Regions from separate parts of the Homo sapiens genome. Here region 2 is linked to region 1. Evidence: promoter capture Hi-C in human tissues and cell types (Jung and others, 2019). All regions are on one chromosome and are shown on one strand. Each heading gives the region's core, a stretch centred on a gene start or on the middle of the fragment in contact. The rest is flanking DNA. Distances are from core to core; before and after follow the strand shown. Region 1 holds the start of MYL10 (myosin light chain 10). Region 2 overlaps LOC107986832 (a long non-coding RNA gene).

What was found. Contacts are between HindIII fragments. The study calls those that stand out against the background at their distance.
Region 2: a fragment that was not itself captured here is called in contact with the fragment with the promoter of MYL10 in region 1 in 2 of the 25 tissues and cell types used here (spleen and thymus).

The regions. Positions count from the first base shown.
Region 1 is chr7:101,625,754-101,632,627 of GRCh38, reverse strand. MYL10 (myosin light chain 10) reads left to right here and starts at 3,332. Exons shown (of 8, transcript NM_138403.5): 1 at 3,332-3,587. The coding sequence starts at 3,510. The HindIII fragment of the contact is 21,528 bases long and covers 1,957-6,874 here.
Region 2 is chr7:101,588,107-101,594,980 of GRCh38, reverse strand. It overlaps LOC107986832 (a long non-coding RNA gene), which reads right to left. Exons shown (of 3, transcript XR_001745314.2): 3 at 3,206-3,714. Among named protein-coding and RNA genes, the nearest start is that of LINC01007, 23 kb to the right of the region's middle. The HindIII fragment of the contact is 9,953 bases long and covers 1-6,874 here.

The DNA of each region.
Region 1 (6,874 bases), core at 2,083-4,582:
CTCTCCATGGAAAAAGTGTCAAAGAATTTGCAGGCATTTTTTACGGCAGCCTGGGATTGCTCAGGGAAGGTCAGAAAGTGGCCTAGGCTCTCAAATTCAGTAGGTAGGTGTGATGGCTAATATTAAGTATCAACTTGATTGGATTGAAGGATGCAAAGTATTGTTTCTGGGTATGTCTGTGAGGGTGTTGGTAGAGGAAATTAACATTTGAGTCGGTGGACTGAGAGAAGCAGACCCACCCTTAATCTGTGTGGGCAGCGTCTAATCAGCCAGTGAGGCCAGAATAAAGCAGAAAGAAGAAAGTGGAATAAGAAGACTCACTGAGTCTTCCAGCCTTCATCTTCTGTGCTGGAAGCTTCCTGCCCTCGAACATCAGACTCCAAGTTCTTCAGCTTTTGAACTCTTGAACTTAAACCAGTGGTTTGCCAGGAGCTCTTGGGCCTTCGGCCACAGACTGAAGGCAGCACTGTTGGCTTCCTTTTGTTTTTGTTGTTTTTTGTTTTTTGTGTTTTCTTTTGAGACACAGTCTCACTCTGTTACCCAGGCTAGAGTGCAGTGGTGCTATCTCAGCTCACTGCAACTTCCACCTCCCAGGTTCAAGCGATTCTCCTGCCTCGGCCTCCCGAGTAGCTGGGATTACAGACGCACACCACCACGCCTGGCTAATTTTTGTACTTTTAGTAGAGACAGCGTTTTGCCGTGTTGTCCAGGCTGGTCTTGACCTCCTGAACTCAGGTGATCCACCCACTTTGGCCTCCTAAAGTTCTGAGATTACAGGCGGGAGCCACCACGGCCGTCCGAGAGGTGTTCTAAAGCAGGCTGGAGACTGATTGTGATGAGTAGGGAAACATACAATGTGGCCAAAGGCTTGGAGGAAGGAGATTTCGGGAAGAATTTGCAGAACAGCCAAGGTCAGGGTGATGGCTGGCCAGGGAAGGGGTCAAGGGCTGTGGGGCTGGGGGACAGGGACAGCCTGCTGACCCTGAGGAGTTATAGGTGAGAGGTTAGGGGTGAGGGTTGAAAGGGGAAGGCATCTCCCCGGCTTGTTCCAGTGTTGTCTGGGGAACAGCTGTCCCCCTGCCAGGCAGCTGGGCTCGTTCCAAGCTCCCTTCCTGGCTTGGCCACTCCCAGGACCTCAGTTACCTCTGGAAACCGAGAGTGCTAAGTATTCTCTGACTCAACCCCAGGCAGACCTGGAATTCCAGTTCCAGAGGACACTTACTCTCCAGGGTCCCCTGGCTGGGAGCAGAGACCTCTCAGAGTGTCTCTGACCCCAAGAACTGGCCCTGGCCCTGTGGTCAGTTGAGTCAAACAGTGTGACCCAGCCACGACAACTGACTCATTGCAGTGTCACCTGGGTGAGGGGGCTGCAGCTTGGAGAGGCTGCAAGTTCTGTCAAGGACTCCATCTACACAGGGGGAAAGGGGGACAGGGGAAGGCTCTGCCCTCCAAACCCCAGGCCGATGACCCCAAAGCCCACCTCCTTCCAATGGCACTAAGCTTCCCGATGGCAGCCTCAAGGGGTCCTGGCTGCTGGCACCATTTCTCAGATGGGGAAAACTGAGGGTCCCACTGTGGGTGCAGAACTCACGGCTCCCCCTTCTCAAGGCCACTGCACCCTCACACTTCCCGCCCCCCAGGAACAAACATCTCCCAACCATCTCACCCCGGGGTTTTCACGTCTCTACCAGATTTCTCACCGGTTCTTCCTGCCTCCGGTCCTATGAAGGAGGAGGCCAGGGGAGGAAATCCACTCAGACTAATTTGTAAGCCCGGTGTGATTCACCAGCGCCGCTTCCCCTCCTCCGGGCAGGCGGGGGGGCTCTCCGCTTGCTCAGGCCTGTCCCCGGCCTTTGGGAGCCCCTGCCACGGTCCTGGGCGTGCTCCCCGGAGGCAAGAGCCCTTGCTTGCAGAGGCCTCAGGGCAGCAGGAAGCCAGAGGCAGGAAGCAGGAGTTATAGGTCTGCTACCCACTCTGTAAGCCCAGAGCCAGGAGGCCCCAGGGCCAGGCTCACAGACCGGGCATGGAAAGCCTGCACCCTAGCCACTGTCGCGGTCACACAGGCCCCCTTCTGTAGCAGGTCCAGGCGGCTGGGACTGGAATCCAGGCTCCCGTCCCCAGAGCTGGGTTCTCCTTTCCGCCTGGCTTGTTGAACACCTGTGGAACGTGTGGTTTTTCTCCCCGGAGAGGAACGCCAGGACACCAGGAGAGCAGCCCTGTCGGGGAAACTGAGGCACACGGTTTCCTGCTGCAGAAAGCGGGCTGCACAGCATCATGGCTGGACCTGGCCCCAGCTCTGGGAGGAGCACTCAGTCACAGGAGTTTAGGGACATCAGAAATAGCTGTAGTCAGGGATGACTGGGAGGGAGCAGGAGGAGGGGAGAGTTTGGATGAGCAGAACCTTTTGGAAGCTTCCTTCTGGAAACACTAGAAAGAGGGGCTCTTGTCCTGGCCCTCCCTCTCTCTCTCTCTTTTTTTTTTTTTTTTTTTTTGTTTTAGAAATGAGACCTTGATCTGTTGTCCAGGCTGGAGTGCAGTGGTGCAATCACAGCTCATTGAAGCCTCAACCTCCTGGGCTCATGTGATCCTCCCACCTCAGCCTCCTAAGTAGCTGGGCCTGCAGGCATGTGCCACTGATACAGGAGGGGGGACAGGGAAGTGCTGAGAGGAGAAAGGCAGGGTCCCTGGCAAGGGCTCCACCCTTGGGCCTGTGCCCACGGACCTAGGTGAGGACAGGCACTCCTGTTTATATGCCCAAATGTCACATTTTCCAAGACCACCCTGGCCCACCACGCCCCCCGCCCCCCCGCCCATCCTGTGCCTATGAAAACCCTGAGACCCCAGTGGGTACACACACAGGTGGCTGGACATCAAGAGGAGCAGAGGATCGGAAGAGCACACCGACAGCACTGGCAGATGCTGGCAGGCCATCGACTGGCTGAATAACACAAATGCCCAGGGGAATTTGGCTGGGGATGGTCAGAGGAGAGTCTGGCTGCTGAGCACCTTGACTTCAGGGGAAAAATCACCTTCCCACTCCATCCCCCTTCTGGCTCCCCATCATCTGCTGAGAGCTACTTCCACCACTCAATAAAACCTCGCACTCATTCTCCAAGCCCACATGTGATTCAATTTTCACAGTACACCAAGGCAAGAACCCCAGGATACAAAAAGCCCTTTGTCCTTGCAATAAGGCAGAGGGTCTAACTGAGCTGATGAACACAAGCCACCTACAGATGGCAAAAGTAAAAGAGCATCCTGTAACACACGCCCACTGGGGCTTCAGGAGCTGTAAGCATCCACCCCTAGACACTGCCGTGGGGTCGGAGCCCCATAGCCTGCCTGTCTGCATGGTCCGCCTAGAGGTTTGAGCAGCTGGGCATGGAAGAAGCGAGCCACACCCCCATCGCATGCCCTATGAACGGGATAAGGGAACTTTTTCACTTCACCACTATGCCTGACTAATTTTTTAATTAAAAAAAATTTTTTTGTAGAAACAGAGTTTCACCATGTTGCTTAGGCTGGTCTCAAACTCCTGGCCTCAAGTGATCCTCCCTCCTCGGCCTCCCAAAGTGCTGGGATTACAGGTATGAGCCACTGTGCCTGGCCTCTGGCCCCACTTCTTATCTGCCTTGGGTGAGTGACTTAACCCATGCGTGCCTCAGTTTCCTCATCTGGAAAATGGGATATGGATTGAATGTGAGGACACGTGTTTTAAGACATGGCCTGACCTTCTGTGTTGTATATTAGCTGCTCTTCTTATTATTATTATGATATTCCCTTCCCCAAAGGCAGGGGATCAGCTGTACCCGGGGCTGAAGGCCTGAGGCCAGCTCCAGGGACAGTTAAGCTCTCCAGCCCCTGGGGACCCGTGGGCTCACTGCCTGAACCCAGCACTGCCGGCCCTGGCAGCTGTTCAGATATGGCGGGCCCCAGATGGACAGTGGCAGCCTCTGAGGCCGAGCTGGGGCTGCTGGGGCTGCACTAGACACAGGAGGGGCTTTCCAGGGCAGGTGTGGGCTCTGTTTGGCAGATCTACTAGAGAATTCTTGGGCTGGGCCAGGCCTGGTGGGGATGGATGTGTGTGTGTGAGGCCAGGGTGGAATGGAGGTCTCATTTTTCAGTTCTTCCTCATCAGAGTCACCTCCAGTTTTCTGTTTTCTTTTTTTTAAGAGACAATATCTCACTCTGTCGCCCAGGCTGGAGTGCAGTGGCACAATCATAGATCACTGCAGCCTCAAACTCCTGGACTCAAGCAATCCTCCTGCCTCAGCCTCCTGAGTAGGTGGGACTACAAGAGCACACCACCATGCTCGGCTAATTTTTTTGATATTTTGTAGAGATAGGGGTCTCACTATGTTGCCCAGGCTGGTCTTGAACTCCTGGCCTGAAGCGATCCTTCCCTCTTGGCCTCCGAAAGCTCTGGGATTACAGGCGTGAGCCACTGCGCCCACCCCATTTTTCTTTTATTTGTCCTGTTGCTTTCTCTGTTCATTGAGCATTTCAGTGCCCTGAGGGGGTCCCCTGGCCTGGGGGTGCTTAATGGACACCCTGATAATAGGCATATTGGTAGAAGGGGCCCCCGAGGGCCAGGTTGGTGCAGAAACTCTCTCCATAAGCAGACCGGGGGTTTCATACACTCCCCCCTATTCCTATGAGATGGCTGAGCCTCCTAGAGGGTGATGTCCCACCCAGAGTCCCACAGCTCCAGAGGTCCGGCCACACTGCAGTCTGAGTGGGTCCCAGCCAGCATGGGTGGCCCCACCCTGGGCAACACTCCCTGACGGCTCAAGGCCAAGTCTTCCCATTGGGGTAGGCAGCCTCAACTTACTCTGTGTCCTTGGCCAAATGCCCCTTCCTGGGTCTTGGTCCCTTGGCTCTAGAGAAAACAGTTGGCCCAGGGCTCTCGGAGATCCTGGAGGCTTAGGCAGTCCCTGCGTCCGTGGTATTTGCCCACGGATTCCCCCCAACCCTATCCACTCTGAATGGCCCAAGGCAGGTGCCTGGCAGGGAGGTCTCCGTCCTGTCATGGATCACCTTCCACACTGGGCCCGGTGCATGCCAGGGGCCCTGGGAGGACCACTATTTAAGGGCCATCTCTGAGCTATCCCCAGGCCAACTGCAGCTTCAGGGAGCTCTCCAGACCATGGTAGGCTGGGGTTGTTCTGCTCTGCCACGGCTACCTTCCTCTCACCTCCACCTCCTCCCTGGGGAGCTCAGGCCTGTGGCTGTTGTGTCTTTGGCTTCAGCACTGCGGTCCCCTCCCTCCCACCCCTGCCCCTGCCCCTGCCCCTGCCCCTGACCTCACTCCGCAATTCCTTTTCTTTTTTAGACAGAATCTCACTCTGTTGCCCAGGTTGGAGTGCGGTGGCTCGATCTCGGCTCACTGCAACCTCCACCTCCTGGCTTCGAGTGAGGTTCCTGTCTCAGCCTCCCGAGTAACTGGGATTACAGGCGCCCGCCACCACACATGGCTATTTTTTTTTTTTTGTATTTTTGGTAGAGACGGGGTTTCACCATGTTGTCCAGGTTGGTCTCGAACTCCTGACCTCAAGTGATTCACCCGCTTCGGCCTCCCAGAGTGCTGGGATTACAGGCGTGAGCCACAGCGCCCGGCCTCATTTCTCAACTTTGACCTTGTTCTGTGACCTTGACTCTGTGTGTGATTCTGACCTTCACCTCCTGCCTGAATTCATCCTGCCTCTCACTGACCTTCCTGACCTTAATCTGATGTTGTCCCTGGTCTGACCTGCTCTTTGCTCTTGATCCCATGCTTGGACCTGCCCCACTCGGGACTCCTCTCCACGTGGGTCCTGATTTGAGCCTCTGCTTTCCTGGACTTTGTGGGGACTGCTGGGGAATGAGGAAGAGGAGGGTGGAGAGAGACGAGGTGGGCAGGGCCTGGGGGCTTCACAGGGGCAGTGGCTCTGAGGGCAGGGGCCCCCTGGGAGGGCCGGGGGTCAGTATTTGGGGCAGCGTGGCACCTCTGGAGCTCCGAGGTCCCCCTGTTCACCTTTGCCTGTGCACCTCATGTGACGCAGGGCTTGCTCTGGGTTCCTGCCCCTGGGGACTCCCTGCGGGGTATCAATCTGGCTGTCCCTCTGTGCCTGTGTCTCACCTGCCTCATTAGTTAGTCCCTCTCGGCACAGAGCTCTGACTTGGCTGTCAGCCTCGGCTTGTCACCTCCTGACTGCCCGAGGGCCTAGGGGCTTCTCTGTCTTGTCTTCTCAGCGCTTGTCCCTCCTCCGAGTCAGCCTCTATGGACTGCCTGTCACCAGCGGGACTGTGATCTTCTTGGGGACCAAGACGGGGCCTGATTCAGCCCTGGGTCCCCAGGACGGACCTGCCTGGAGGTCCGTAGGTGTCTAATACATGTCCTGATGCTTTGAGGTTGACCTGCTCTAGGTTTTATAAATGGGGAAACAGGCTCAGAGAAGACAAGTGAATTTCTTAACATCACGGAGGCTGGGAGCAGCCAAGCCAGGCTTTGAACCCAGATCCGGGTGACCCCCCCTTCTTCCCTGAGATGTTCCTTTCAGGGGAATTTTATTTTTCAGGGGCCCATTCTCAAAAGGAATTTTCAAGACAGCTGGGCTGCAAAGACCCTAGGGTTTAGGACTCTTGTGCTGTAAAGAAAATGATCTCTCCCTCCCTCGTGGAGCTCTGGGACAGTGTAGGGTGGGGGTGTAACCAGGGGGATCATGAGAGGCTGGGGGCGTGGGGGGCAGGGACTGAGGACGCCGAGGCCACAGCCAGGTGTGCCAGAGAAAGGGCAGAACCTCCCACAGACGGAAGTGATCATTTTTTATTAATCGGAGGAAATGTATATGTAATTATGTGGGATGAACTCTGTGGGGAAGTTCTTTTCTTTATG
Region 2 (6,874 bases), core at 2,377-4,876, 38 kb after region 1:
AAGTCCCCAGTCACAAGTCCCCAGCCTGGGGCCTGCCAGATAGTGGTGTTGAACATATGTTGAATGAATGGGTGCATGCTTGAAGCCCTGTGGCTCCTAAAAGAATACAGAGTAAGACAGCATGTGTGCACAGAGGAGAGTCACTTGAGGGGAAAGTCCTGTGAGAATAGAGCCCTGGTCTGCGTCTTGGGAGGATCAGAGTCTCTAGGATCAGGCAGTCCTCCTCACTTGACTGCTCTATGGGGAGAAGAAAGATGAGAGGCATATTCAGTTGTGTGCTGGAAAATGTAGTGGGGAAAGCCCTGACTGGTAGCGTTTGCCAATTCTCATGGTGTAAAGACCCTCACTGTGGTTGATTTTTTTTTTTTTTTGAGACAGAGTCTCATTCTGTCACCCAGGTTGGAGTGCAGTGGTGTGATCTCAGCTCACTGCAACCTCCGCCTCCCAGATTCCGGGTTCAAGTGATTCTCCTGCCTCAGCCTCCCGAGTAGCTGGGATTACAGGTGCGCACCATGACACCCAGCTAATTTTTCGTATTTTTAGTAGAGATAGGGTTTTGCCATGTTGGCCAGGCTGGTCTCGAACTCCTGGCCTCATGTGATCCACCCACCTCAGCCTCCCAAAGTGCTGGGATTACAGGCATGAGCCATCATGCCTGGCCACGATGGTTGATTTCAAGATATTGTCATTACATCAACTGGCCTGAAACTTACTAAAAGAATTAACAATTGTTTCTTGAAGCAGGCAAGAGAGAAAGGACCCAGATGTGATCATCCCCCAAAACTTAGGGGGGGTTAACTGGTACCTTTATTTATTACTTATCTCTACTCCCCAAAAGGAATCAAGGCATTTTATAGCAATGAAGACAATACATTAAGATGGAATGATTAAATCAAGATTTGGGGGCTGACGAAAGTTAATGTCTAGAAAACACAGGATAAGGCCAAGAGTGAGGCTAAGACCCTAAATTAGTGTCATAAGTTTTTTTCCTGATCTCCTAAGCTGCCTCCCCTCCCTTGTGGTCTCAACAATGCACTTGATCTTCTGTGCCAGACGGACAGCTGGGAGGTGAAAGGACTTGGGGGGAGCAGGGAAGAGTACCCATGTTGGGAAAGAGAAGGCTCAGAGACACACCACTGTCTTCAAGTTTCTGCACGGACATTCCAGGCCAGCAGGAATACAGGGTCCAGTGCGCCGAGCCAGGGCCAATGTGGATCCTCTATCCAAGAAAGAGCTTTTCACAGTCAGAGCCGTACACAGATGAGCCTCACTAGCCTGGAAAGGTAGTGAGTGTCTCGTCAGGGGAAGTATGTAACAGATGCTGGCCAGCCACTTATTGGAGGCTTTCCAAGCACTGGACTTGAGGGCCCATTTGATCCAGGATGTGGACCTGGTTAAGAATGTGGCTCAGGACTCACATCCCAATTCAACAGTAGTTGGGGGCATATTTCTTCACCTCTCTGTGTCTGGTTTTCCCTTCCTCTTTACCTCCACCTCCAGGTTCTCCAGGTGTCCTCCCAACTGGACCCCTGGCAGAAGTGTTCCTGGCCTCCTAGGGTTTCTGAAGCCGGCTGAGCATGACAAGAGCAGGTGCATTTGAGGCGGTGGGAAGCAGAGATTTGGGTAGTACTCTTTTTTGGTTTTGTTTTGTTTTTGAGACAGGGTCTCACTCTATTACCCAGACTGGAGTGCAGTGGTGTGATCTGGGCTCACTTCAGCTTCTGCTTCCCGGGGTCAAGTGATCCTCCTGCCTCAGCCTCCCGAGTAGCTGGGACTACAGACATGCGCCATCACGCTTGCCTAATTTTTTCTTTTCCTTTCTTTCTTTTCTTTTCTTTTTGTTTTTTTTTTTGTTGTTGTTGTTTTGTTTTGTTTTTTTTTTGAGACGGAGTCTTGCGCTGTCACCCAGGCTGGAGTGCAGTGGTATAATCTTGGCTCATTGCAACCTCCACCTCCCAGGTTCAAGCGATTCTCCTGCCTCAGCCTCCCAAGTAGCTGGGATTACAAGTGCACGACACCACACTCATCTAATTTTCGTATTTTTAGTAGAGACGGGGTTTCACCATTTTGGCCAGGCTGGTCTCGAACTCCTGACCTCAGGTGATCCGCCCACCTCGGCCTCCCAAAGTGCTGGGATTACAGGCATGAGCCACCGTGCCCGGCCTTGGCTAATATTTTCTAAAGACAGTTTCACCACGTTGCCTAGGCTGGTCTCGAACTCCTGGGCTCAAGCGATTTGCCTGCCTTAGCCTCCCACAGTGGTGGGATTACAGGTGTGAGCCACCACACCCAGCCTGGGCTGCACTCTTGAGATGGCATGCTCAGCCTCCTTCCTTTAGCTCCTGTCTGGGCTTCTCTGCTGCCACTGATGACCTCTCCCTGGGCAGGTACTTCTTCTGACCCCACACTGTCCCCCATTCCTCAACACAGGCCTGGCATGCAGGAGGTCTCAGTGAGTGGTTGTTAAAGGAATGGACAAGAGGATGGATGGATGGATGGATGGATGGATGGATGGATGGATGATGGATGGATAGATAATTGGATGGATAAATAAATGGGTGGATGAATGGATGGATGTGTGGATAACTGGATGGATAAATAGATGAGTGAATGGATGGATGGGTGGATAATTGGATGGATAAATAAATGAGTGAATGGATGGATGAATGGATGGATGGGTGGATAATTGGATGGATACCTAGATGGGTGAGGGGGTGAATGACTGTGTGAGTGCGTGGATGGATGAATGAGTGGATGGATGGTGGATGGGTGAATAGATGAATAGACGGGTGGATGGATGAGTGGATGGATGGATGAATTGATAATTGGATGAATGAGTAGATGGATGGATGGATGGAGGGAGGGATGAGTGGTACATGTAATTTTAATATAATTGCATGCTCAACCCCTTTATTTATTTCTTTATTTATTTAGAGATTAAGTCTCCTTCTGTCACCCAGGCTGGAATACAGTAGTGCCATCTCAGCTCACTGCAACCTCCACCTCCTGGGCTCAACAATTCTCCTGCCTCAGCCTCCTGAGTAGCTGGGATTACAGGCGCCCGCCACCATGCCCAGATAATTTTTGTATTTTTAGTAGAGACAGGGTTTCACCATGTTGGCCAGGCTGGTCTCGAACTTCTGACCTCAAATGATCCACCCACCTCGTCATCCCAAAGTGCTGGGATTACAGATGTGAGCCACCATGCCTGGCAACACCTTTATTTTGTTTTAGCCACACAACTGTTTTGAAGGCAGGGCTAAAACTATTAATCCCATTCTACAGAACTGAAAAATGAAGCCCAGAGAGGTAAAGCAACTTGCTCCATGTCACACAGGGAGGAAGTGACTGAATCATGATTCAAGATTAGTCTCTTGACACCTTGTTCCTGGTGCCTCTTCTAATCAGTCCCATTCATTCTTTCATTCTTTTATTTATTCAAACCATCATTATCATTGGGTGTCACTCATTCAAGCAGGAGCTTATTAAAGCCCATTCTGGGCCACCTGGTGCTGGGAACCTGGAGATGAAGCCGCCCTTCTCCCTGGCTTCGAGGAGTTTCTAGGGAAGAGAGCCCATGAGTAGCTCCTGATTAGCTCAGGACAGTGGCCTGGGCTAGGTGATGGAGATGCCAACTGTTCTCTTGGGTGGGGTCCAAGCCAGCATCCCTGAGAAGGTGAGGCAGGGCTGGGCCACCTGAGGAGGTGCAGGAGTCTGCCAGATAGAAAAAGAGAAGAAGGTCATTTACGTCAGGTCAGGGTGTGTGCCACCGTGGGTCATGGCGGCTGAGCTCCTGTCTGGAATAAGCCCAGCACCCTGGGCAAGTGGAGCGGGGGACATTTAGAGGAGGGGATGGGGGGAAGGGCCAGGGAAGCTGACGAGGATAGATCTGCAGGGCTTTGAGCGCCAGATTGGGAAGTTGAGGCTGCATCTGAGGCAGTGGGGAAAGACTGACGGGCGGAGAGCATGAGGGGTCCCCGCTGAGACAGGAAGGGTGTCAGTTCCCACTGAGTCCACCCCTTGGGCCTCTCCTCCACCCAAGAGTGCCCTCAGCACCCCTTCACCCCAGGTGCATGACGTCCGCCTGTAGCCCGGTGCCACCTCCCTTGGGCATCAGGGGGAGCCAGCCCCAGCAGAGGCCCACCCACCTCGGGAGAGCTGCCCTCAGCTGCCAAGGGCCCGCCAGCCTCTTTGGAAGACCTCAGGGCTGGGTTCAGGAGGCACAGGCCTCAGAAGCCGACTACCCCGGGCGAGGCTGTGATGCCAGGTGTGCCAGGCCCTCATTAGGCCTCAGTGCACAGCCCAGGCTCTCAGAGTGTCTTTCTGAGAATCCCCAGAGAAGAAAGAAATCAAAGGCTGGGGATTCAAAAACAAGGATGAGGAGATAGAAAACAAGATTTCTATCTGAATAATTTCCTCTAATTGCTGGTAAGAGACATTAATTTTCCTTTTGAAGCTCCCCGTGGCCTCGGGCGTCTTGGGACGTGCCAAGATGGCAGCCCGTCTAGCCGGATTATCTCACTGCCCGCCTGCAGGGCTGGCACCAGGCCACCGCGGGGGTGGCTGGCGGCAGGCTGGGTGCTGCTCTGGTCCCGTGGTGGGGCTCAGGGTGCAGGAGGAGCCCTGGATCTGGTTCCTTGAGGATGCCACACAAAAGGCCTTCAGAGTACCATGTCCTCCTGGCCTCTTTCTCCACCCTGGGTTGGACATAGGGGCGTCCTGGCCACCAGAAGCCCAGGCCCCACTGGGCTTTGGACACACAGGGCATCAGCTGGGTCTAGGCCTGTGCAACTGCATTTCCTCACCTCTCCTGCCCATGAGTGACTGCAGCCCCCACAGCAGATAGACCCAGGGGAGGCCGGCAAGGGGAAGGCCAGTGTGAGAGAGGCCCCGGAGAGCGTGAACCTGTCCATAGCTCCCCTGGGGGAAGTAGGGCTCATTATGATCTCCATTTTACAGATGAGGGCATTGAGGTTCAAAGGATGGGATTGGGGCTGGGCATGGTGGCTCACGCCTGCAATCCCAGCACTTTGGGAGGCTGAGGCGGGCTGATCCCTTGAGGCCAGAAGTTTGACACCAGCCTGGCCAACATGGTGAAATCCCATTTCTACTAAAAATGCAAAAATTAGCAGGGCGTGGTGGCGCATGCCTGTAATCTCAGCTACTCAGGAGGCTGAAGCAGGAGAACAGCTGGAACCCAGGAGGCAGAGGTTGCAGTGAGCCGAGATCGTGCCACTGCACTCCAACCTGGGTGACAGAGCGAGAGTCCATCTCAAAAAGAAAAAAAAAAATGAAAAACCCTACAAAGTATGGGATTGGCCTCACTGTAAGAGAAAAGCTGGATTGATTTTCTGTGCCCAGGGCTTTTGCCATTGTGCCCCCATCCTCAGATAGTAAGGGAGAAAAGTACAAGAGAAAAATAGAGATTCATTAGCTGTACATTCTAGACAGTCTCAGGCTGAGGCAGGAGAATTGCTTGAACCCAGGAGTCAGAGGTTGCAGTGAGCTGAGATCGTGCTACTGCACTCCAGCCTGGGTGACAGAAAGAGGCCCTGTCTCAAAAAAAAAAAAAAAAAAAAAAAAAAGACAGTCTTAATACATCCCCAGCCCACCCATTTGGTCTCCTCTCCAATTGTTCCTCCTCCTGTGTCTGAGACACTTAGAGGCCTTCTCTGGGTTCCCTCGGCCCTGGACTGTCCCTCCAGAGATTGTCATTGCCCCCTGCTGGGCCTGGTCCCCTGCTCCTGTCTGGGAGCATCTCAGGTCTGGGTCGTATCTAAGCCCACCCCATATCTCGTGCCCAGCCCATGCTCTCTCTCCAGGGAGGCACACCAGGACGCCGGGTGCAGGGAAGGCCCCCCAACTCCAAGACAGTGTGTGGAGTGTTCCAGCTGGTGATGGAACTCCCATTGTCTTTCACCCTAAGAGCATTTTCCTTTCCTTTTGATCCCTTGCAATTTACGAAAAATAGAACGCATGTGTTCCTGATTAATTTTTACAAAGATCACGGAACTGTTGACTTTTTACTTAAAAAAAAAAAAAGAGTCATTTTATGTGGTGCCTCCTTTCAGATTCTTGCAAGACTGCCTTTGCTCAGGAAGTGAAATGTGGGGAGAAAACAAGCCACCCTGCCACCAATACAAGAGTCAGTGCTGTCACAAAAGTTGGCCGTGGTGGACAGGTGTCCTGGGACGTCCCCGCCTCACTTGCACTGCTCCCTGGCTCCCCACTGTCCTGGAGATAAAGTCTGGTCTTCCACAACCCAGTCCTCCTGGCCTCTCCATCCCCAGGAACCCTAACATCCAGACTTCCGGAACTTCCAGTTGCTCCCAGAACACGCCAGTCCATTCCCATTCCTATCTCTCTGCACACTTTGCTCCCTCTGCCAGGAACACACTCAATTTTGTCACTTGACAAACTCCTATGCATCCTTCAAGGCCCAGACCCAATGTCTCCCTGTCTGTTCCCTCAACCTTGCCACTCGACAAACTCCTACGCATCCTTCCAGGCCCAGACCCAGCATCTCCCTGTCTGTTCACTGCGTGCTGCCTTCCCCAGACAGTCCCCTGTGCTTTCCTCAGCATTCAGAGGGGTAAGTCCTCATTTGACCCAAGAGGCCTGCATACACCGCCTTTGGCCTGCCTCCCAGGGTAGGGTCACAGACCCAGGCATGCAAAGATGAAAGACTGGTATGTTGTGGTAAGAAGTATTAAAGGAAAAAGATAAATCCTCCCCAAATGGAAGCCATGAACAGTGTTTATTTTTGGTATTTTATGGGGTGCTTTTGAGAATGGGAGCTGGAAAAAGAGAATTCCACCAGGACAAGCAACAGATTTCATCCTTAGGGTGGGAGAAGGAAGAAAGGAGGAACAGT